Regions from separate parts of the Homo sapiens genome. Here regions 2, 3, 4, 5, 6 and 7 are each linked to region 1. The links are contacts of gene promoters, found by promoter capture Hi-C in blood cells and fetal thymus (Javierre and others, 2016). All regions are on one chromosome and are shown on one strand. Each heading gives the region's core, a stretch centred on a gene start or on the middle of the fragment in contact. The rest is flanking DNA. Distances are from core to core; before and after follow the strand shown.

What was found. The method cuts DNA at HindIII sites, captures the fragments that hold promoters and counts their contacts. A CHiCAGO score of 5 or more calls a contact.
Region 2: a fragment that was not itself captured here is called in contact with the fragment with the promoter of PHAX in region 1 in 1 of 17 cell types (erythroblasts); the score reaches 5.8 in erythroblasts.
Region 3: a fragment that was not itself captured here is called in contact with the fragment with the promoter of PHAX in region 1 in 1 of 17 cell types (erythroblasts); the score reaches 5.4 in erythroblasts.
Region 4: a contact is called between a fragment that was not itself captured here and the fragment with the promoter of PHAX in region 1, in 1 of 17 cell types (erythroblasts). The highest score is 5.5, in erythroblasts.
Region 5: a contact is called between a fragment that was not itself captured here and the fragment with the promoter of PHAX in region 1, in 1 of 17 cell types (monocytes). The highest score is 6.6, in monocytes.
Region 6: a fragment that was not itself captured here is called in contact with the fragment with the promoter of PHAX in region 1 in 2 of 17 cell types (monocytes and erythroblasts); the score reaches 5.7 in monocytes.
Region 7: a fragment that was not itself captured here is called in contact with the fragment with the promoter of PHAX in region 1 in 1 of 17 cell types (neutrophils); the score reaches 5.8 in neutrophils.

The regions. Positions count from the first base shown.
Region 1 is chr5:126,599,488-126,602,447 of GRCh38, reverse strand. It overlaps PHAX (phosphorylated adaptor for RNA export), which reads right to left and starts at 1,501. Exons shown (of 5, transcript NM_032177.4): 1 at 1,390-1,501. The coding sequence starts at 1,485. RefSeq lists enhancers at 1-721, 722-1,569, 1,570-2,419 and silencers at 1,084-1,333, 1,454-1,663. The HindIII fragment of the contact is 34,757 bases long and covers 1-2,960 here.
Region 2 is chr5:127,489,915-127,492,874 of GRCh38, reverse strand. No RefSeq gene overlaps it. Among named protein-coding and RNA genes, the nearest start is that of PRRC1, 26 kb to the left of the region's middle. The HindIII fragment of the contact is 370 bases long and covers 1,396-1,765 here.
Region 3 is chr5:127,468,269-127,471,228 of GRCh38, reverse strand. No RefSeq gene overlaps it. Among named protein-coding and RNA genes, the nearest start is that of PRRC1, 48 kb to the left of the region's middle. The HindIII fragment of the contact is 1,859 bases long and covers 616-2,474 here.
Region 4 is chr5:127,354,377-127,357,336 of GRCh38, reverse strand. The region is part of intron 4 of MEGF10 (multiple EGF like domains 10); the gene reads right to left. Among named protein-coding and RNA genes, the nearest start is that of MEGF10, 65 kb to the right of the region's middle. The HindIII fragment of the contact is 2,718 bases long and covers 196-2,913 here.
Region 5 is chr5:127,326,532-127,329,491 of GRCh38, reverse strand. All of the region lies in intron 1 of MEGF10 (multiple EGF like domains 10), which reads right to left. Among named protein-coding and RNA genes, the nearest start is that of MEGF10, 37 kb to the right of the region's middle. The HindIII fragment of the contact is 2,062 bases long and covers 336-2,397 here.
Region 6 is chr5:127,304,874-127,307,833 of GRCh38, reverse strand. The region is part of intron 1 of MEGF10 (multiple EGF like domains 10); the gene reads right to left. Among named protein-coding and RNA genes, the nearest start is that of MEGF10, 16 kb to the right of the region's middle. The HindIII fragment of the contact is 1,260 bases long and covers 931-2,190 here.
Region 7 is chr5:127,275,920-127,278,879 of GRCh38, reverse strand. All of the region lies in intron 2 of LOC105379199, which reads left to right. It also overlaps a transcript of MEGF10 not described here. Among named protein-coding and RNA genes, the nearest start is that of MEGF10, 13 kb to the left of the region's middle. The HindIII fragment of the contact is 4,674 bases long and covers 1-2,960 here.

The DNA.
Region 1 (2,960 bases), core at 252-2,751:
GCAATAACCCTATCAGTGGTACATCATGCCAATTCCACAGAGGTAGACAAAAAGCAGTGAGGCTAAATAAACCTGCTGTAGGTCACACATCGGTGGCCCCAGGATCTGAACACAGGCAGCCTGGCACCAACGCCCTCTCAAAGAGGTTGCTACCTACCAAGGCAGTCAAGACAAATTCCCGTTTAGAAAGCAGGGAAGCTGGGCCGGGCGCGGTGGCTCGCGCCTGTAGTCCCAGCACTTTGGGAGGCCGAGGCGGGTGGATCACTTGAGGTCGGAAGTTCAAGACCAGCCTGGCCAACATGGAGAACCCCCGTCTCTACTAAAAATACAAAAATTAGGCCGGGCGAGGTGGCTCACGCCTGTAATCCCAACACTTTGGGAGGCCGAGGCGGGCGGATCACCTGAGGTTGGGAGTTCGAGACCAGCCTGACCAACATGGAGAAATCTCGTCTCAACTAAAAATACAAAATTAGCTGGATGTGGCCGGGCGCCGTGGTTCACACCTGTAATCTCAGCACTTTTGGAGGCCGAGGCAGGCCGATCACTTGAGGTCAGGAGTTCGAGACCAGCCTGGGCAACATGGTGAAACCCCGCGTCTACCAAAAATACAAAAATTAACCGGGCGTGGCAGCGGGCGCATGTAATCCCAGCTACTCGGGAGGCTGAGGCAGGAGAATCGCTTGAACCCGGGAGGCGGAGGTTGCAGTGAGCCGAGATCGCGCCACTGCACTCCAGCCTGGGCAACAGCGTGAGACCACCTCAAAACAACAAACAAAATCAGAGAGGCTAATGCAAAAGCCTAGTGCCATGGTACCGCATGACAAAGCTAGGTTCGGTGGAAACATGGAAAACCAGATCTTTGAGTGAGCGATAAACTTCATTCCTGGGCCTCAGTCTCCCTTCGGCTCAGGGAGAAAATGAGCATCACAGGCTGTTTCAGGCTGATGTCCCTAGATGCTACATATTTGGCAAAATCTGCCCCTTTATGGTTACCTAGCGGCGATGGAGTGGGGAAGCCCCAAGTTTAGAAAAGAAAGAGCGGTAGGCGGAGGTGAGACGTCTAAGAGGCCGCCGCAAGCCGGCCTCCAGGAGGCGCCAGGGCTCGCGCGCCCCGCCTCGCAGGGAGCAGCCAGTTCGGGGTTCGCACGGCCAGCCGCTGCCGCTGCCGCCGTCGCCCCTCGCCCCTCGGCCCCCGCAGCCCGGGCTCCGTGAGCCCGCCTGGGGGACGTCTGCTCGCCCCTTCTGCGGCCACTGACCCGACAGCCTGGGCTCCTCGCTCTGGCCCGGGCTCCTAGCTCCCACCCCTCACCCTCACCGCTGCCTGCGCGCTCCCCGGGGCCCAGGCTCCGCGCGCCCAGCCACGATCACCCACCCTCCTTTCACACTCACTGGCAATTGCAGCGGCCTGTCGCTGGGTGCGACCGTCATGTCGGAATCCGAGTCGGAAAGCTGCCCATCTTCCATATCGCCGACCTCCAACGCCATCTTCCCGCGGTGCGCTGCGCTGCACAGCGGCGGGTCAGGAGAGCACTTCCGGCGGGGCAGCCGGAAGGCCCGGCGGCTCGGCTGCTCGGGCGCCCCCGCGCGGAGGCCAGCCTGTCCCAGCGGCCTGAGGCGTCCCATTGCATTCCAACTACCCCGGGAAAATGAATCCCTTGTTCCCCCAACACTTTTCTTCCAAACTTTATTTTCGTGCAAACATAAATATGTCACGTATCGCGGTCGTCTGGGATTCCTCCCTTGGCCGTACATCCTTCCCCTGTATGCTCTGGACAAGCCTCCCCGCTTCTGTTCTTGCTCCTCCACAATCCACTCTACATATTGCTTCCAGGGAAGCCTTTCAAGCTGTATAGTCCGCCCTCTGTATCCACTCCCCATCCACGGATGCCGAACCTGCGGATGGGAAGGACCCACCGTGCACCCCCACATAATGTAAGGGGCTTGAGCATGGCGGATGTTGGTATCTGTGGGGGTCCTGAAAACAATGACCCGCGGATACCTAGGGAGGATTGTACCTTAGCTCGAATCTTCCAAGTGCATCCCTCCCCAAAACAAGGACTGAGTTCTCAGCATGGTGTTTGAAATGTTTGTTTTCCGGTGTCGTAAAGAAATAGCAACATAAATTTAACTTACTGAATAAGGCCATTTTTACTTTCTGCAGAAAGGGTACACTCGCCAGCAGTTTTGCCAGGAGAGTACACTGAACAAAAGGAGACAGGGTCATTTATAACCTGACGTGTTTACCTTACTGCTGTGGCTGGTTTTTATTGGCTGGACCGGACCTCACATTTTGTATTTGTCCCGATTGGCTAGCAACTTAGAACTTTTTAAAAGAGGCAAAGGTAGAGGAGAACAAAGGAAGGAGGAAGTAACTTGTGGAATGCTGAGAAAGATGAAAACACTTTTAAATAAGGAAGAGGAACAGGCTATGACCTAATGCTTGCTTGGACTAGTAAAAGCATGCCAGGGCAAATATTTAGGCTAAATTGTGGGAGCTAAGAACATAAAGTACATTTTTTTTTATTATGGCTAGCAGATATTTAAGAATGTTAGCACAGATCTTTGAATAAATTTTGCTTTTAAGAGAAGTTACTATTTATTCCTAATTAGACGGGGAGGAAAGTTTTTGAAGAGGAACCTCTGTTTTACTTTGCCACATGGCAAACAAGGTCATGTGGACTGGGCATCTGGTCACTGGTCCTAGTGTGTCCCCCTGCCTAACCGCTGGCGCGCTGAACCTGTTGTTCCTCAGGCCAGGCCTCTGCATTTGCTGTTCACTCGGCCTGAGAGGCCCTTCCCTCAACCCACCCCATTCTTTAAGGGTTATCTTGGAACCCGCCTTTGCGAAAATTATAACAGTGAGAAAATTATGGCAGTGGGAGAGATCTGATCTAGCCAACCCCTATCTTGCTTTTAGCCTTCAAGCTGCCCTTAATTATTCCTGTGCTTGGGCCTGTCAA
Region 2 (2,960 bases), core at 331-2,830, 890 kb before region 1:
TCTCTGCTTTCAGCACTTGATTGTCATTGCTAGCACTTTATTCTTAAGGCCCTGAATTTTCCTCATTTTTTTTAAAGATCAATTGAAATGCAGGAGATTTACCCTAATGTGTCTACCTGAGAATAAAAAGAGAATAAATTGCTTTTAACGAATTACTTAAATAATATAAACATGTCATTGAAGTATCGCAGTATTTAGAGAACAGTCCGTTTTCATTATAACCATGTGAAGAATAAGAAATTACTTTAGAGATTCTCATAAATTAAAATTTTTTAAAAGGAATGAATTGCTTTCTAAAAAGACACAAAGAATATACATGATCTAATACAACAAAATCTATAAGCAACATCTTACTGGCATTTAGTAAAGGTTAAATCCTTACTCTATATAGGCAATTTTCCCCATGTAATTATATTTTAGTTTAAATTAAATTTTAGGTATACAAATTTTGATCCACAGGGATTTTTTGGTAATTCTGTTCTAATTATTTTTTAATTTCCATTATCTTCTTTGATTTATGACTTATTTAAAACTGTGTTTTAAACTTTCCAATTGTATGAGGATTTTATCTTTATTTTTTGATTTCTAATTTTGTTACATTGAGATACAAGAATGGGTCTACATTATGTTTGGTTTTTTTTTAAGGCTCAAATTTTGGGTGCAGGTAGGTGTGTGTGTGTGTGTGTGTGCGCATGTGTAAGAGAAAGAGAAGATTTTAGCTGTGACTTTTTTGTTATCTTGATGTTTCAGCTAAAGTCTCAGCTTCTCAATGTGCATGTTTGCTGGGCATTCTAAGATAATGTGAGACTGGGTTTACAAAACTTAAATCATCCTTCGCTTCAAATGCTGTATGAAACCAGGCTAGAGAATTGGTTATGGGATGATAAAGATGAAGAAAAGAAGTACAGTATTTCTTTAAAGAGAAAATTGGAGAATCATGATGTTTCTCGTCTCCATCTAGATGTGGCGCTAATGCTACTCTCATTTTAATCCCAGCCAGGGACATATATTGACAGAAACAATCAAAGAGCAAGACAGATGCTCCCTAGAATTTGAGGACACAGTAATTGGTATGGGGTTCATGAGTAAATATATTCTAAAAGTTAGAGCCAAAGTGATCTGCTTAGAAATGGACTGCACTTTCATAGTCTGTTAGGGCAAAAGTGAATGTACATTTCTCTCAAGATTTTATGGCTACTTGGGAGGGACATACTACCTAAAAGTATTACTTAGAAGAATAGGTAGCCACAACAGTAGGGTGAGCTGCTAGAATCTAGTAGCTAAGCTTAGGGTTTGTAAGCTGTATGCATGAGCAATACTGCGGGATCTTTCACAGTTTTTTACAAAACTGCCTTTAAAAGAAAGAGCACTGCGTGTGGAATACAAAGCAAAGCTTCATACCAGATTGTGACCCTGTGAGCCTTGAAAAATTGTTTTCTCCTTAATGCCCCTTTTATATCCTTCCTTCTCTTCCCATTGACCAAAAGCACATCCAGCAAGTGAGAAGGGGGTGTACGAAGAAAGAGGAAAGAAGCCAACCACGTCCTGCTTTCTCGTTGTAAGTTTTTGAACCCATGTGAGCTGAGCTGGGGAAGGAGAATCATCTAAAATTGGATGAGAATGTAGGGTTTATATTTGACTATGCTGTATTTTATCACATGAAAATGATTAGAAGAGCTATAAAACTTGTCAATATTTCATTCAGGAGCAAAGTCTTTAGAAGTTGAAAGATTAGTTAGTTTCTCCTTGCACTTTGCAACAAGCTTGATAGTTCAATATACCATGTATAAGGATACAAACAAATATAGCCACATTCTTATCCATATCTATTCCTATATCTATGCTATGTACACACACACACACACACACACACACACACACACATTAGCCCAAGATGGTTAATTCGATTTTTTAAATGTGTATACTTTTCCCAATGTTTGACATTTTCTACTTTTTCTCGAAATTCTTCAAATTTTCTTTACATAGTTTGAAGCTATCTTGTTCACATGGGTTCAGAATTATGGCTTACGGGTAAATTGTTTATTTAGCCACATGTTGGAATTTGGTTGTCCCTAATAAATCTTTTGCCTTACAGTCTATTTTGTTTGAAATTAATGTAATAACAACCATCTTCTTTTGGTTAGTGTTTGCTTTTCCATCTTTGAAGTTTCTATTTTTCTGCACCATTATGCTTTAAGTATGTGTTTTTTTTTGTTTTTTTTAGATGGAGTCTTGCTCTGTCTGGAGTGCAGTGGCACTATCTCAGCTCAGTGCAACCTCTGCCTCCTGGCATTTAGCAAAGGTTAAATCCTTACTCTATACAGGCAATTTTTTCCCCTAACATATGTATTTATATTTCCCTTTCAATTAAATTTTAGGTACACAATTTTTGTATTTTTAGGAGAGACAGGGTTGCACCTTGTTGGCCAGGCTGGTCTCAAACTACTGGCCTCAGGTGATCTGCCAGCCTTGGCCTCCCAAAGTGCTGGGATTACAGTCGTGAGCCGTTGCACCTGGCCCTTTTGAGTACGTCTTTTAAATAGCACAGAGCTGGGTTTTGTTATTTTACACAATATAAAACTCTTTGTCTTTTATCTGGAAAGTTTAATTCATTTTATTATTTTTATTTTTATTTTAGATTTATTTCTATAATCTTATTTTGTGCTTTTTATCTCTACCAGCTTTCTATGCTTCTTTTTCCTTCTTTCTCATTCTCAATTGGATTAATCTAATTTTTTATATTTCCTTTTTGCACCATCACTAATTCCACTCTGCATTGATTTTATTTCTATATTTTATAGGTATACTTCACTGAATAAGTTAATTTTCATAAAGTCATACAAGAAGCTTAAAAATCAAAACTTTCATGTGTAGGCTTATGAGGAAAAGGAGCAAGCCTAGCCTGTCTATTCTTAAATCCCACCCCCCAGAAGCAATCAGTTTAAACACTTTAGTTCTTT
Region 3 (2,960 bases), core at 296-2,795, 870 kb before region 1:
TGAGAAGAAATCTACTCATAAAGATGCTGTGACCATTGTTGAAATGACAATAAAGGATTTAGAATATTATATAAATTTATTCTTAAAGAAGTGGCAGAGTTTGAGAAGATTGACCCCAATTTTTGAAAGAAGTTCTACTATGGGTAAAATGCTATCAAGCAGCATCACATGCTACAGAGAAATCTTGCATGAAAGGAAGAGTCAATCAATGCAACAGATTTCATTGTTGTCTTATATTTAGAAAACATCTCAGCCACTTCAACCTTCAGCAACAACCACCCTGATAAGTCAGCTACCATCCACATTAAGGTAAGATCGTAAACTACCGAAAAGATGATTTGTCGAAGGCTCAGCAGTTTTTAGCAATAAAGTATTTTTAATTATGTTCATTTTTAGATATAATGCTATAATGCACATAATGCACACTTAATAGGCTATAGTATTGTGTAAACATAACTTTAATATACACTGGAAAACCAAAACATTTGTGTGACTCACTTTATTATGATAGTATCTTTATTGCAGTGATCTGGGACCTGCAATATATCTGAGGTATATGCCTGTATGTAAAGTTGCATGACAGTGTTTTAATAGATTGTGCTTAGTCTTTAAGCTTTCACTTAATGGCAATGTGGCTTCTTAATATTTATGATATTTAATACTGATTTTTGTCTTAAAAGTGTCTAAAACATTTAGTGAGTTACATAATGTTTTTATATTGGCTCACGCCATCAAAAACTTTCAGTGGGAACCTATCTTACATGTACCATGTGCTGATGTCAAAGAGAAGTGAGTTTTCTCACCAAAGGAAAAATGCTCTTTTAACAACAAAAAGGCATTTTTCTATTAATTAATATACATGGTTCCTCACTCTGGGTTTAAGGGTATTCATTGGCAATCATCTTATACTTTTCTCTAAGAGGGAAAAGAGCAATATTGTAAGCCTCTGTATCTTTTTTCTTGCACTGTTTTCTCCCTTTCTCCACTTTATAAATAATGCATCGTTCCTGAAGTCCAACATTTCAGAGCCTGTCAAGGGTCTCTCTCAATATCGCAGGCAAGTAAGAAAAATCTAGCCTTTCATTCTGGTGTTTTAAGATTACCTTTTTTGAATGGCTTAACTCTAGTTTGTTTTCTGCCAGAAGTAAGATCTACCTGCAGTAAAAATAAAATATTCAGTACACTTTATTTTTACTTAATTTGCAGCTGAAACCAAGGATAAAGGCCAACCATTGCTATTTATCAATGCCCAGCTAATTAGTGAGTAAAAAGATGAAAGTGAATCTTTTAAAAACTAGTCTAATATGAAGAAAACAACAGTTAACTGAGCTCTTATAACATAGTCGTCTATTTTTAATGGCCTCTGTTAATTAGGCATGCATCCTGGGAAAAGTCTCCAGTGGGCTCTAATAAAGTTAAGGAACACTGTCTGTGTATACTTATAAACAATTGATTAAATAGCTTTGTGCATCAGTGCATTTTTTTTTCTGATTGGCAATTCATAAATAAATCCTCATGCAAAGAGTTTATATATTAAAGGGAATCTGGGACCTTTTAGTAAAGTCATCCTCCAACTCAGTGTTTCACAGGAAAGCCACTAGAGAATAGAACTCCTCCAGGGCCAAATAATTCATTGGATGATCTATTAACAAAAGAGGGAATCCAATTTCCATCATCTATTCCTGGTAAAATGAGTATATCAGAAATATATACACTTGAGGAGACCCAGTTCATGGCATTTTCCTTACTTGAATGGATAAACTCTGTGGACATCAATTTTCCTAGACATAAAATGAACAAGTAGGAGAAAAGCTGCTCTCAGCTCCTTTCCAGCTCCTCTATGGTATAAGTCAATATCAGTGGCTTGGGTAGAGACCTTGTAACCCCTGCTTGAACAATCAGAAATCAAGGTTGTGGTAAACTAGTAATGTGCTGAGGCAGCTCATACAGACTTATGAGAGCCAATTGTTAAATTTTCCAGAATTTCACGAACCACTTGTTAAACACAGCCATTATTAAAATTATTATAGCTAGGTGTGGTGGCTCACACCTATAATCCTAGCACTTTGGGAGGCCGAGGCTGGTGAGTCACTTGAGCCCAGGAGTTTGAGCCCAGCTTGGGCAACATAGTAAAACCCTGTCTCTACAAAAAATAGAAAAATTAGCCAGGGTAGTGGTGCACACCTGTAATCCTAGCTATGTGGGAGGATCACTGGAGCCCAGGATGTTCAGGTCACAGTGAGCTGTGATCACACCACTGCACTCCAGCCTAGTGACAGAGTGAGACCCTGTCTCAAAAAAAAAAAAAAAAAAAGAAAAAAGAAAAAAATTAAAGTATTTGCTACCTTTTACTATTAGCTATGTCCTTGAGGTTAGTTGCATCTATTGTATCTGTAGTGTGAAAATGCTGTATAATGGTGAGCTACTCAGCATCTCTTTCTTACTCTGCATTCAGGGATGACATGTTGGAAGCTTGAAATTACCCACGGTGGGAGGATTTACACTATAGGAACAGTTAGGTGCTACATATCAGTGCCTTCTAATTTTATTTTATTTTATTTTATTTTATTATTTTACTTTATTTTTGAGATGGAGTCTCACTCTGTCGCCCAGGCTGGAGTGCAGTGGTGCCGTCTCGGCTCATTGCAGCCTCCACCTCCTGGGTTCAAGCGATTCTCCTGTGTCAGCTTCCCGAGTAGCTGGGACTACAGGCATGCGCCACTGCACCCAGCTAATTTTTGCATTTTTAGTAGAGATGGGGTTTCACCATGCTGGCCAGGCTGGTCTTGAACTCCTGACTTCAAGTGATCCGCCCGCCTTGGCCTCCCAGAGTGCTGGGATTATAGGCGTGATTATCTGGCTTTTAAAAATTTTTTAGTGAGTTGGTTTTTCAACATTTACCAGCATACCACTGAGGTCACTGGGCTGAGACCAAGCAGAGGGAGCAGTGGATTTAAGTA
Region 4 (2,960 bases), core at 305-2,804, 750 kb before region 1:
CATATTTATTGACAGCTCTACTTTTGGTGAACAACTGTTTGTCATAAAATACCTCTGTTGATAATAGTTCAAAATTTGGGGGAGAGGTCTAGAAGAAGTTGTCCCCATCAATGAGGCAGTAAAATACGCATCTCCTCCATGCCATAGCAAAGGTAAGGAAGTATCTATTATAGCCTTCCAGCTTCAACTAAAGCTTTCCCTTTCTTGAGTTGTTAGAACAGATAATATAATTGTCCTTAGAAGAAATTACAGGTCCAAAGAGTCTCAAATAAATTATAAATATTTAAAATTACCCAGTGTATGTTTACAGAAAACAAAATCCCTCAAAGCAGTGTTTTCCAAGTAAGTAGATCCAGAGAACTATTTCTTCCCTTATGTTCTTGGGGAAAGAAAAGGGAAGAGGGTATAGGGAGTAAGGAATTCCATGGTCAAAAAAGTTTGAGACATGCCTTTACTGCAGGCATTCCCAGAGCCTTTAATAGGCTGAAGCAAATCTTCAAGAAATGGGATCCAACATACTGCATTTCCCAAACTAACTGGATAATGCAACAGTGAATTCTGCAGGATGAGTATTCCATATCTCACACTAGAGGGATTCAACTACAGATAATGCCTAGGATCCAAGTTTCTGGAAACCTATTCTCCTCCCTGGATCAACATGTATGTTTCATTCATGGTGGCATATTTCCTTTTATGTCCCTCAATTTCATGCTAAGTACAATAAATTAACTTAGCTATTGTTTTTTAGCTTAAATCTACATTACTTTGATGGCCATATCTTTAAACTTGCCATAACCACTTTTGCCCTTCCAACGTGGCCAGCCGGTCAGGGAGGCCCACCTTGAGCTAATGCTGCCTTCTGTCACTTGAATCAAGAAGTCTGAGTTTCTCTGTCTTAACTCTCTTGGAGCTCTCTGATTTTTTTCCAGCCTTTTTTAGAATTGGTTATCAATAAGCAATATAGGTCTGGACCTTGGGCTACTACTACAACCAAAGGAAAGAAGAATGTCAGTGCAGCATTGATTCTACCAGCGCATCAATCTCTCCCTCCTTTAGCATCTCTTGTGTGTGGCCCAGATGGATGCACTAGGTTTACCACTGGATTATCTGTAAAAGCGCTGGCCGGCGCTATACCAGACTAAAAACATGCAAGTTCTGTCACCACCTGGTCATGTCAATGTTTTGTGGTTGGTCACTTAGATCAAACTGTGTTTTTTCCATTATTTTTAAATTACTTTGCCCTGAAAAGATTTGAACCATAGTACAATAAAAATTGCTTCTCAGTTCTTGGCTTTTATTTTAGCCATTTTCTATCCCTGCAAGGGGATTGCATAAATTATTAGGCCTGTAAAAATCCTACCTGTCCTGCAAAGACTGCAATTTCAGGAACTAATTTTCTAGAGATAAGGCAAGGATTTTTTCATTATTTCCTTTTGACCCTGTCTCCATGGGACTCTAAAGTCAGGCTTTCTCAAGAAAAAAAAAAATAGGCAGCAGATATGATCTCCTTCTGTTTAGATTGAGGCTATCTTGAATTTATAGTGGATTTTTTAAAAATTAAATTCTTAGTTTCTATTTATAAAATCCTAAACACTGAGCAAGCATTGTCAATCAGTAAAGCAACAAAGGTTTCTTGTTATTTATTAGATTTCCTATCTTCCCTGCTAGCAGAGACCAACGACCCAAACTGGAAAGCAGAAGTTTAGGTTCCGATAGATGTGTGGGAAAATTGGAATTTCTGCTGGCACGGTATGTGGACAAAAGGCCTTCCCCTGTATTTACTGGTAGGTTCCTCTGAACCACGTCGGACACCATAGCAACAGAGTACAGGGTCCCTATGGAAACAGGAAAAAAATTCAATGCCGGTGGCAGGGAGGGCATCATGGGTAGGTATATTTGGGAACATACCATCTGATTGTTGTCAGTCAGGCTCTCTTTGACTAGCTTAACAGGATTGTCTCACTTTTATCTCTACTCGAAAGGATCTGCTTAAATGGATCAAAAGACTATGGTTTTTTTTTTAATATTTGACAAGATCACAATTTTATCATTAAACAAGCCTGAGAGAATCAAACAAATCCAAAACAGAAGGCTCTGTCTGCCTCAAACTCCAATAAGAGGTACTCCTCCTTTCCTGAAGCTCTCCTTTTGCTTCCCCAAATCCACCCAAGGAGCCTAGCTTTCCCCTAAACAGACCTCTGCCGAAGGCTAACTCTTCTCACCCCAAAACAAGGCATCTTCCCTGCACTGCAGCTCCTCTCAGCCTAAAGAATCTGGGCCCTAAACTTTTCAGCAGGAAAAGACCAAAATGATACAAAGCCAGGATAAATAATTAAATGTGTCCTCACATAATTGTAAGGTAGGGAAAGAAACTATCTTCAGTTCAGCTCTTCCCAGAAGCCGTGCCCAATTTGCTCAAGCCTGCCAATCCCTCTCCTAATCAGACCCCCCTGTGGCTGACACTGAGGCAAAACATAGCCATTGAAAATCCTTTCCCATCCCCAACACAAAACTGTTGACAATATGATCCCGAGTTAAGCATGTCAAATATTCCAGCTCACAAAGGAAGGTAATTTTTTTCTGGGGACAATAGCAAGAACAGTAAATATAACTTCTCACTTAAATGACAGAGGTAGGTATAACAGGAGCCTTTAGCCAGGTGTGTGATTCAGGAGCCTCGGTTGCTATCTCCATGATTCCAGAATGCCACAGGATACTATGCAGTCAAATACAGGGATGGCAAATGAGGCGCACTCGGGCCACCCACTGCCACTCCAATCCCGTGGCAGAAATCACTAGTGAGTCACTTTGCTCTTTCTCTCTTAGCCCAGACACAGCCTCAGAATCCTTCTAAACACAATGTTCCAGGCAGCCACTTCCAAGAGGTAGCACTCCCTTTCCCAAAAGAAAGCTTTTTGTTAATTCCAGTCTAAAATAACATAATATTCCAATTTTAAAAA
Region 5 (2,960 bases), core at 117-2,616, 730 kb before region 1:
TCATTCAAATTCAGGACAGATCAAATGAGGAAATATTAAATTCTTCAAAATCAAGATTCTTTAAGTATACTATGACAAGTTACCTATTGCTGACTCAACAAAGGCTAAAAGAAAATGTTTGACTTGGAATAAGGAAAAAATCATGAATTTGTAGTATAATTAAAAGATATTGTGTAAGCCATTAAAGAAGCTGTAAAATCTTAAAAAGGATATTTCAATGGTCACTAAATAATTCCAATAGATAAAGCGTAAATAGTTAACCAAAATTAACTTATAGATTAATTCAAATTATTGACATTTCTCACATGCATCATGAAGTTGTAAAATCTGAAGCTTAACATTATATAAAGAAGCTATTTCATTTAAGGGGAATGAATAAAAAATGATGATGATAATAATAAACAATAACAGATAACATTTCCTGACCGATTACTGTGTGCCAGACACAGTACTGAGCCATTTATGTGAATTATCTATGTAATCCTTACAGCAACTTAACTAAGAAGTAGTAGTTTTTATTGTCCCTGTTTTACAGTTGAAGCCGTGTAATATACAGCTAGTGTTTTCCTCATCCATCAAAAAAATCTTTAATATATTTGGCTGTAACAAATGAGCATGGCAATTATTTCCTTGTCTCATTGCTTTATCTATGTGAGAAGTATTTCCCTTCAACGAAGTGTGAAATGTGTTTAGCTTTCATTCTTTCCTCAAAGACATGAAGGCTGGTAAGCAGTAACCTACTCATAAACAATTACCCCAAATTGGAAAGTTTATTTCCTGAGTCATCTCAGACTCAAACCATCCATTTACCAATTAGAAATGTTTAGTCTATAAAGTTAGAAATTGTCCCAAGCCATGAATCAAAGTCCCAGAACAAGAAAGAGGTTGTGAGTTTTATTTTAATGTAAAAATATTGACACTAATCTTCTGGTTTCTCTTCTTGCTTTGTATCTGATGCATTGCCCTGTGAAGAGGAGATGACAGAGAAAAAGCAGAATTTGGCCACCTTCTCATTGCTTTGGAAGTTCAGTATACAGAAATATCAAACTGCATTGAAAAGTCGCAGGTACCATTTTTGAAAGAAAAAATATCAGTACATTGAAAAATATGTGTGTGTGTGTATATGTGTGGATGTATGTGTGTATTACTTGGTATCTTTGTCCCAATACGTTTTCCTAATTAAAATTAGAAAATTAACTGAGCTCTAGAATAGTCTGAAAAACCAAAAAGAATTGTTTGATCAAGAGGCAAGGATCATGCAAATTCACATAAGCTGGTTAAAACTGTTTGAGAAAATAACACAGATGTTATAGACGATGAGGAGAGAAGACATCTCACAAATATGCCAATAAGCTGTAGAGAACTAAGAAACACAGCATTTCTCTAAATTAGGAAACATGGATTGTCCTTTCATTCTATCTTGTTTAATAAAGGCACTGAGATGCAATCAAAATCAGAAGTTGATAGGACATTTAGGCCAGGCGTGGTGGCTCACTCCTGTAATCCCAGCACTTTGGGAGGCAGAGGCGGGTGGATCACCTGAGGTCAGGAGTTCGAAACCACCCTGGCCAACATGGTGAAACCCTGTCTCTACTAAAAATTAGAAGAAATTAGCCAGGCATGCTGGCAGGTGCCTATAATCCCAGCTACTTGGGAGGCTGAGGCAGAAGAATTGCTTGAACCTGGGAGGCGGAGGCTGCAATGAGCCAAGATCGTGCCATTGCACTCCAGCCTGGGCAACAGGAGTGAAACTCTATCTCAAAAAAAAAAAAAAAAAGAAAAGAAAAGAAAAGAAAAAAGCAGCAGATAGGGCATTCATTTACTTTTTCCCTATCTTCTTTGTTTTCTTCTATAGGTTTTGGTGAGTAAACATAGTGAGTACCCTTTTTCCACTATGCCTACTCTGAAGAAGGAAAGTCCAGTAAATTTATTCTTCCTCATTTCTCTCTTCTATGCTGTGTCATCCTGTCTTATAATTTTCCACTTTGGAATGCAAATGAAAACAAAATGCAATTTTTTAAAAATAGTATTATTTCAATTGAAAACAAAGGCAATGCAGTGGTGATTTGCTTCATTAAGATAGACATTTTGAATATATTCAAATCTCTAAATTGGGTGTTGGCTACCCTCACCCACTCAGACTTCCTCTTCAAATAACTTCCTTATGATTCCGTTTAACAAAATTTAAAATGTAAAAAAATAAAGAGTCATTTGCATGAACCCCCTAGTGCCAAACTTGATTGCATTTCAGATCATTCACTTAATTATTATGGAAAAATCAAAACAAAATCAGTACAACTGATTAGCATTGCTAAAGTGCTCCTATTAGAAAGGGAAACAGCCCACAGAGTTAACCCTTGCTGTCTGTGTTTTGCAGCTCCACTTGGAAGGCAAGCTTTGCTTATTCTACCACAAAAGCCTCAGTAAATAATCAGGATGAATAAAATCCTTACAATGGATGAGTCTTAGTTCTGATGATAAGCAGTAGTTTCTTTATCATTGAGTTAAAGAGAAATAAATAATGGGGTGTTGACTTACTAATTTATTTTTGAAACAACAGAGGGGAAAATTATTCCAGATGATTCCTTTTGGCTCCAAAATCTATTTTCTTCCTAGAATCAATTAAGTGCACACATAGAAATAACTTCGGTACCCTCAACCAGTTTTTTCTCAAGCTCATTTTCTGCTACTCACATATCGCTAAGATTCTCTCACATATCTCTAAGTTAAATTAAAACAAATTTATTGATTAAGAATAGCCACTTTTCAACAAGAGCCATCCATTTCACCTGACCACTCCATCGTGTTATCTATAAAGGATGTACTCACTGTTCCTCAAACTACTCAGAAAGGCCGGCAGAGGCAGTGTGCTAAGTTCTTCCTGGAGCTTTGAGGCCGTGAACAGAGAAGCAATGGTCCAGCTTCAGTGCATTAAAGATGTAGGATGAGTAATGCTTGCT
Region 6 (2,960 bases), core at 311-2,810, 710 kb before region 1:
GGCAAACAGAAAACAGACTTTACAAAATTTTTAAAGCCAACAATTTCCTTTTTTTAAATTTGTAAGTTCAAAATAAAAGAAGATAGCAACATTAATTTTTATACATGTTCCCAAAGATCTATCATGGTGGGTTGGAAGAAAATATCTCCATCATGGATAGAAGAAAATTTGAATTTGGTCTGAAGTTAGTGAAATTTTGAGACTATGCTAAAGTTGTATTTGAAGAGACATGTCAGTAGAGCTCTTTAGGCTGTGCCCTCACCATGAGCCAACATAGAGGAAGAGCACCCAGGGAAACAGCTGCCCCACAGATATTAGATATTAGTATTCATCCTCAAAATAAACACTTTCAGTCACACAGTCTTATAACTTCCATTCGGTGTGCAGCTCCGTGGCCAGGCAAAACATCTAGCCCAGGCGAAGCTGGGGCTCTGCCATAGCTTTTGCCAGTGATGAACCCTGCCCACCCCATTCTCACCACTCAGCTGCACCCCAACAGCCCAGACATGGCCCCAGAGGCTCCCTAGTCAAGTTCACAGGGTTGGGAAGGGACTTTTTGATCTCTTTGTCTTGTGAAGAAAGAAACTGAGGCACAGAAGAGTTTTTTCAGGTGTCTAACATCATATGGTGTGGCAAAGCTACAACTCAAGGCAAGGTCTTTAGGCTCCAGAGCCAGTATTTTTTTTAGTATTCTGGGTTATCTAACAGAACTCTAGGGGAGAAGCGTGCTCCTTTCACTCCGGAAGGATTTCTTTGTTGTTGTTTCATTCAAGGCCATGCCAAAGCAAAATAAAACAAACATTTTCATGGATTAGTGACATTGGCCTTGAAATCTGCATCACTGTCAATGATTTTCATTTGCTCCAGGATTAGAAAACATTAAAAAAATTACCTCAAGTTAATGCAATTCTAAAAGCAGGCAGCTAAGCTTGGCTCATGAGTAATGCTGGAATCTCAAACTCGGCTGATTCCACCACCCCCCACAACCCAGCATAAAGTACCTTTAAGATAAAACTTGAACTGAGTCAATGAAGCGAAACCTCCTAAAAGCATGTCTCTCCTTAGGTAGCTCCGCTTCGCCTGGACTTCTTTCCTCTAACCATGGGTTCCCCATTGGGCCTTCAACAAGGAATCTGAGGCCCAGCGCTAACCACCCGCGAGCATCTTCGCTTAGCTGCCAACAATGATGGGCCACAGTGAATGGATGGGATGGCCACTGCACATGGCTCTTTCTTCTGGGGCACAGCAGCTGGAGCCAAGCTGTGAGGCCCAGTCCCCTCCTCATTTCTGTAAGTGCACCATGGAAGACGGGCATGGTAGTTCCCAGCATATGCTAAATGGGTTTTGCTCTACCTGGAGTTTTACTTATGCTGGATCCAAATCCTAGACACAGATTGGGAAGTTGCTTGTTTTTTTTAAAGAACTGTTCCTTAGAACTCAGTGACAAACCTCGCCTGGCTTGCACAGACCTTTCTTCACTCACTAACACTTTGTTCTGAAAATCTGCCTGTCAGGACTTGGTTGCCATCCTTCTCAGCAGTGACATATTCACCATTAAAGGAAACAGAGAGGGCACAGTCAGCCACTAACCCATGAAAACACTGTAGTCTCTCTTATGTACCAGTGAATGGATCCACACGGCACCGGGGCCCTAATTACATGGCCTCATTTTTGTAAATAGCACAACCTGGCCAAGAAATGAAAAATGGTCTTCCAAATTCTCTAGCTAAGCAGAAAACTCCTTAGGTTAAGCTACAAGAAACCTTCCTTGGGTGAAGAGTTAATGTCTCAGTTAATGCCTGCCACACCTGAACTCTAGAAAAAGTCAGAAAGATCAGAGTCCTGTCCTTTAGGGAAAGAGCTACACATAAGCACATGCTCGAGCTTCTATAAACAGATTAAGGTGATCACTTTCTGAAGATATTTGGCTTTCATAGCAATGCAGTATAATTCAATATCTTCAACCAAAGATGATTGTGCAGGGAGGTGACAACTAGACCTAGATGGTTAGCTTATAGGATATTCATAATCATAAAAATCAGATTCTATAGCAGCCATGGACTTTAGTGAGGCACTCTAAACCATCCCCGGTGGCTGCACAAACAAAACAGCATTTACATACTGCCTTGGAAGGAAAGCAAGGGACTTTTTTTTCCAGCCCTAGCTTGGCAGAGCTCCACATCACAAGCTTTTTTGTCTCTGTTTTTGCTTTGTTGTTTTTTTTAATGGCGGAAGAAAAGTGCCTTTGCTTCAGGTTGGCCTTCACCAAAATAAAAGTGGACCATCTGGCTTAGCTATAGTGAGGAACTCTCCACACCTGAATCCTTGGCTGGGTTCAGGCACAGTCATCACTCTTCTGGAAGCAGGATCTCTTGGGTGCAAGGAACCACCTCACATGTCTCCTAGGCTAGGTGAAGTGTTTCCTCACTGGCAGGCCTCTGCTACTCAGCCTCCCCTCACACTTTCACCCCCTCAAATCTGGGTGCATCCTATGAACACACAGCTATGAGGCCAATTGTTCAATAACTAAAAGTCTGAAATACAAACTGTCCAGACTCTTTCCTTACCTCATATTCTCCGACGATGGTTCTCACTAGTTTTGATCTATTTCACTGCTCATTAGCACCTCCTCTAGAGGAAAAATGAGTCTTGGGGGAATTTTAACCAACAAATTCTGTAACCTTTTGGCCTCACTAATGTATGATAGGAAATAAAGTCAACATTATCCATTTAAATGAGTATTAGGACTGTGGGTTAGGTTCAGTTTTTCATGTTTTTCTTATGTCACCACAATTCTGAATAATCTTGAAATTAGGTCCACAAATACTCTTTTAATGTTTTCGTCTGCTCAGGCTGTTAACAAAATACCATAGACAGGGTGGCTTAGCCAGTAGAAATTTATTTCTTATGGTTCTGGAGGCAGGAAGTCCAAGATCAAGGTCCTAGCCAATTTGGTTTCT
Region 7 (2,960 bases), core at 165-2,664, 680 kb before region 1:
TTGCTCTTCCATTCTTCTAGATGGTGACCTTCTCTCTTTTCAAACATCCAATATCTCATCTTTCATCTTCACTGTCAGTTGAAGACCTTGCTTCTCATTTCCCTATTTCACTGAGAAAACTGAAGCAATTAGAGAAGAATCTCCACAAACTTCTGCAACTACAGCTGGTCATCCACCTTCATGTCTGGTCGTGTGCTTTGTCTTCCCTCCTGATGAATTGACCACACTCTCATTTAAGGCTGTCCTCCTCACTTATGCACTAAATTCTTTCCCTTGGGCCTCCCAAATGACGTGGATTTCTCCCTGTCTTTCCTGCATTATTAATTCTCTCCTCTCAACAAGAGTATTCCCATCAGCATTCACAAATATTTCTTCCACTTAAAAAAAGAACTCTGTTTGGTTCTCCTCCTACAGCTATTCTCTTCACTGTAAACTCCTTGAATTAAATTTCTAAACTTAGTATCATATATTTTCCTTCTATTCTCTCTTAAATCTCCTCTAATCAGGGTTTTGGCCCCAACCCTCAATTTAATACTGCTCTCTTTTTTTTTTCAAGGTAATCAAATGAGATCCAATTTGCTGAAACCAATTGTCAGAAACATTTTTCTCTTCCCTTCATTGAATATCTTCCTTGACTTGATATCCTGGATACCAGACTTTTTATAGTTTTCCCTTTTTCTCTCTGGTGGCTCCTTCTGTGTTACCTTTGTTGGTTTCTTCACATCTTTCCAACCTCTAAATTTTGAAGTGCCCAGGTCTCAGTCATTGGATCACTTTTCTTTTCTAGCTACAATAACTCCATAAACTATCTCATTCAGGCTCAGAACTATAAATACCATTCCTTTACTGACCACTCCTAAATATAGATCTTCAGGCTTGACCTCTGCCCAGCTGCCTCCTGGACATCACCACTTGGTTCACAGATGTGCATCTCAAAATTAATATGTTCAAAACCCAACTCCTAATTTTCCCCCAACAGTCTGCCCTTCCCAAATTCATCCTTGTCATCTCCATCTCAGCAAATGGCATCTTTTTCCTTTCATTTGCTTATATCAAAAACCTTGGTGTCATCCTTGAGCTGCTCTTTCTCTCACACCCTCCATTCAAACTATAAGCAAATTCTGTAGGCTCTACCTTCAAAATACATTCACCAACCTACTCCAGACCTTCATCATTACCCCTGAATTAATGCAGTGGTCTCTTTATTGTTCTCCCTGTTTCTGACCTTAACCCTCCACCAACCACTCCCAGTGCCACAGCTAAAGTTATCTTGTTAAAACATAAGTTAGATCATGTTTCTCTCTTACTCTAGCCCCCATGTTCTCCCATCTTAGAGTCAAAGTGTTCACAGTGCCTCTGTTTCAAGTCTTGTTCTCCAGAAAATGGACTCTGAGATGGAGATTTGTAAGCAGGAGGTTTCTTGGGTTTGCTCTCAGGAGTAACACTTGTAAGGAAGTGAGGAAAGCAGAATTCGGCAGAAGGACCAGTGGACTGTGATACAGTTACAATAGGCCCACAGAGCTGGCCTGAATTGAGGCAAGAGCACCCAACTCCTATACTCCCTCAATGACAGTCTTTGGATGTGGTCTGCTCCCAGGAGAGAGCATAACCTTGCAAATGAAGTTCTTTTCTGTTGAAGGCAATTCCAGATGAGGAACTGAGCTAGGAGCCATCTACATCCAAAAACTCTTGCACCTGGGGAAATGAGTGCCTTGGTCCTGAAGCGCACATGGTATCCACTACTCTCAGTGCTTCTTGGTTTTATCTTCTGCTCTCCTCTTGCTCTATACTTCAGATACTTTGCTCTCCTCTTGCTCTATACTTCAGATACTTTGGTCCCCTTGCTTTTATTCAAATACACCAGACTGACTTCTACCTTAGAGCCCTTGCAGTTCCCTCTGCCTGGAATGTGTGGCTTGCTCCCTGATCTCCTACACATCTTACTCAAATTTCATCTTCTCAATGAGCCTTCTTATTCAGTATTGTAGCCCATCACCCCTTCCCCAACACACCTGATCCCCTTTACCATGCTCTACCTTTTCTTTTTTAATACCACTTTTCACCTTCTACTATCCTATATAATTTACTTATTCATTATGTTTATTGTTTGCTATGTCTTTCTCCCACTAAAATAAAAACTTCTTAATCTTTGCCTATTTTGTGTACTGATGTATCTCAAGCATGAAGAGATGTCCTCATGCATAGCAATTCTCAAATATAATGAATATATTTTAAACAAAAGTTTTATAACTCAGTAGAGGATTTTTGTTTTCCACTTGGAAATTATCTTTCCTAAGTAGGAAATTCTTTTTAACATCACAGTCTTCTGAATATGAATTTATTAAGTCACTTAATCCATTTGCCCAAACCACAGAGTTGCCCAAACACAGCTCTCAGTTGAAGCAGGCTTATCTCTCAGATTATAATAATTATCTCACTCCTGCTATAAAAGTAAAGGAAGGGAGGAGAAGCTGCACATAATGAATTAATTAATCAAGGCTTTAATTTTTCTTTAAACCCAGGGAATTCATATTAGCCTGCCTTGTTATTTACCCAACTACCCTCTGGGATATTAATACTATATCCTACGGTTTACAGCCTTAAATGGTCATGATGTGTTTACACAGGTGAAGAGCAAGTGCTCTGGCAGAGCCTTTCCTTACATTTCTTGTACATTAATTTACCTCGGAGTCTTCACACTCTGGAATGTCACTGACATGAAAACAACAGAAGGTTGTTTCACTAAGTGCAGTGCTTTGACTACACTAAGAAAAAGATAGTTATGTTTATATGGTTATAATATGGTAAACAAGGGAATTGGAGCCCCTAGCAAGACTTTCCTGGTTACCCAGCCCTGCTCAGCCACCCCTACTACCCTTTGGGCTGGCTGACCCATCAGTTGGGGAAGCTCTGCTAGATTAGATGATGTCATAGGAAGTGAATTCTAACCAATTGGTGAG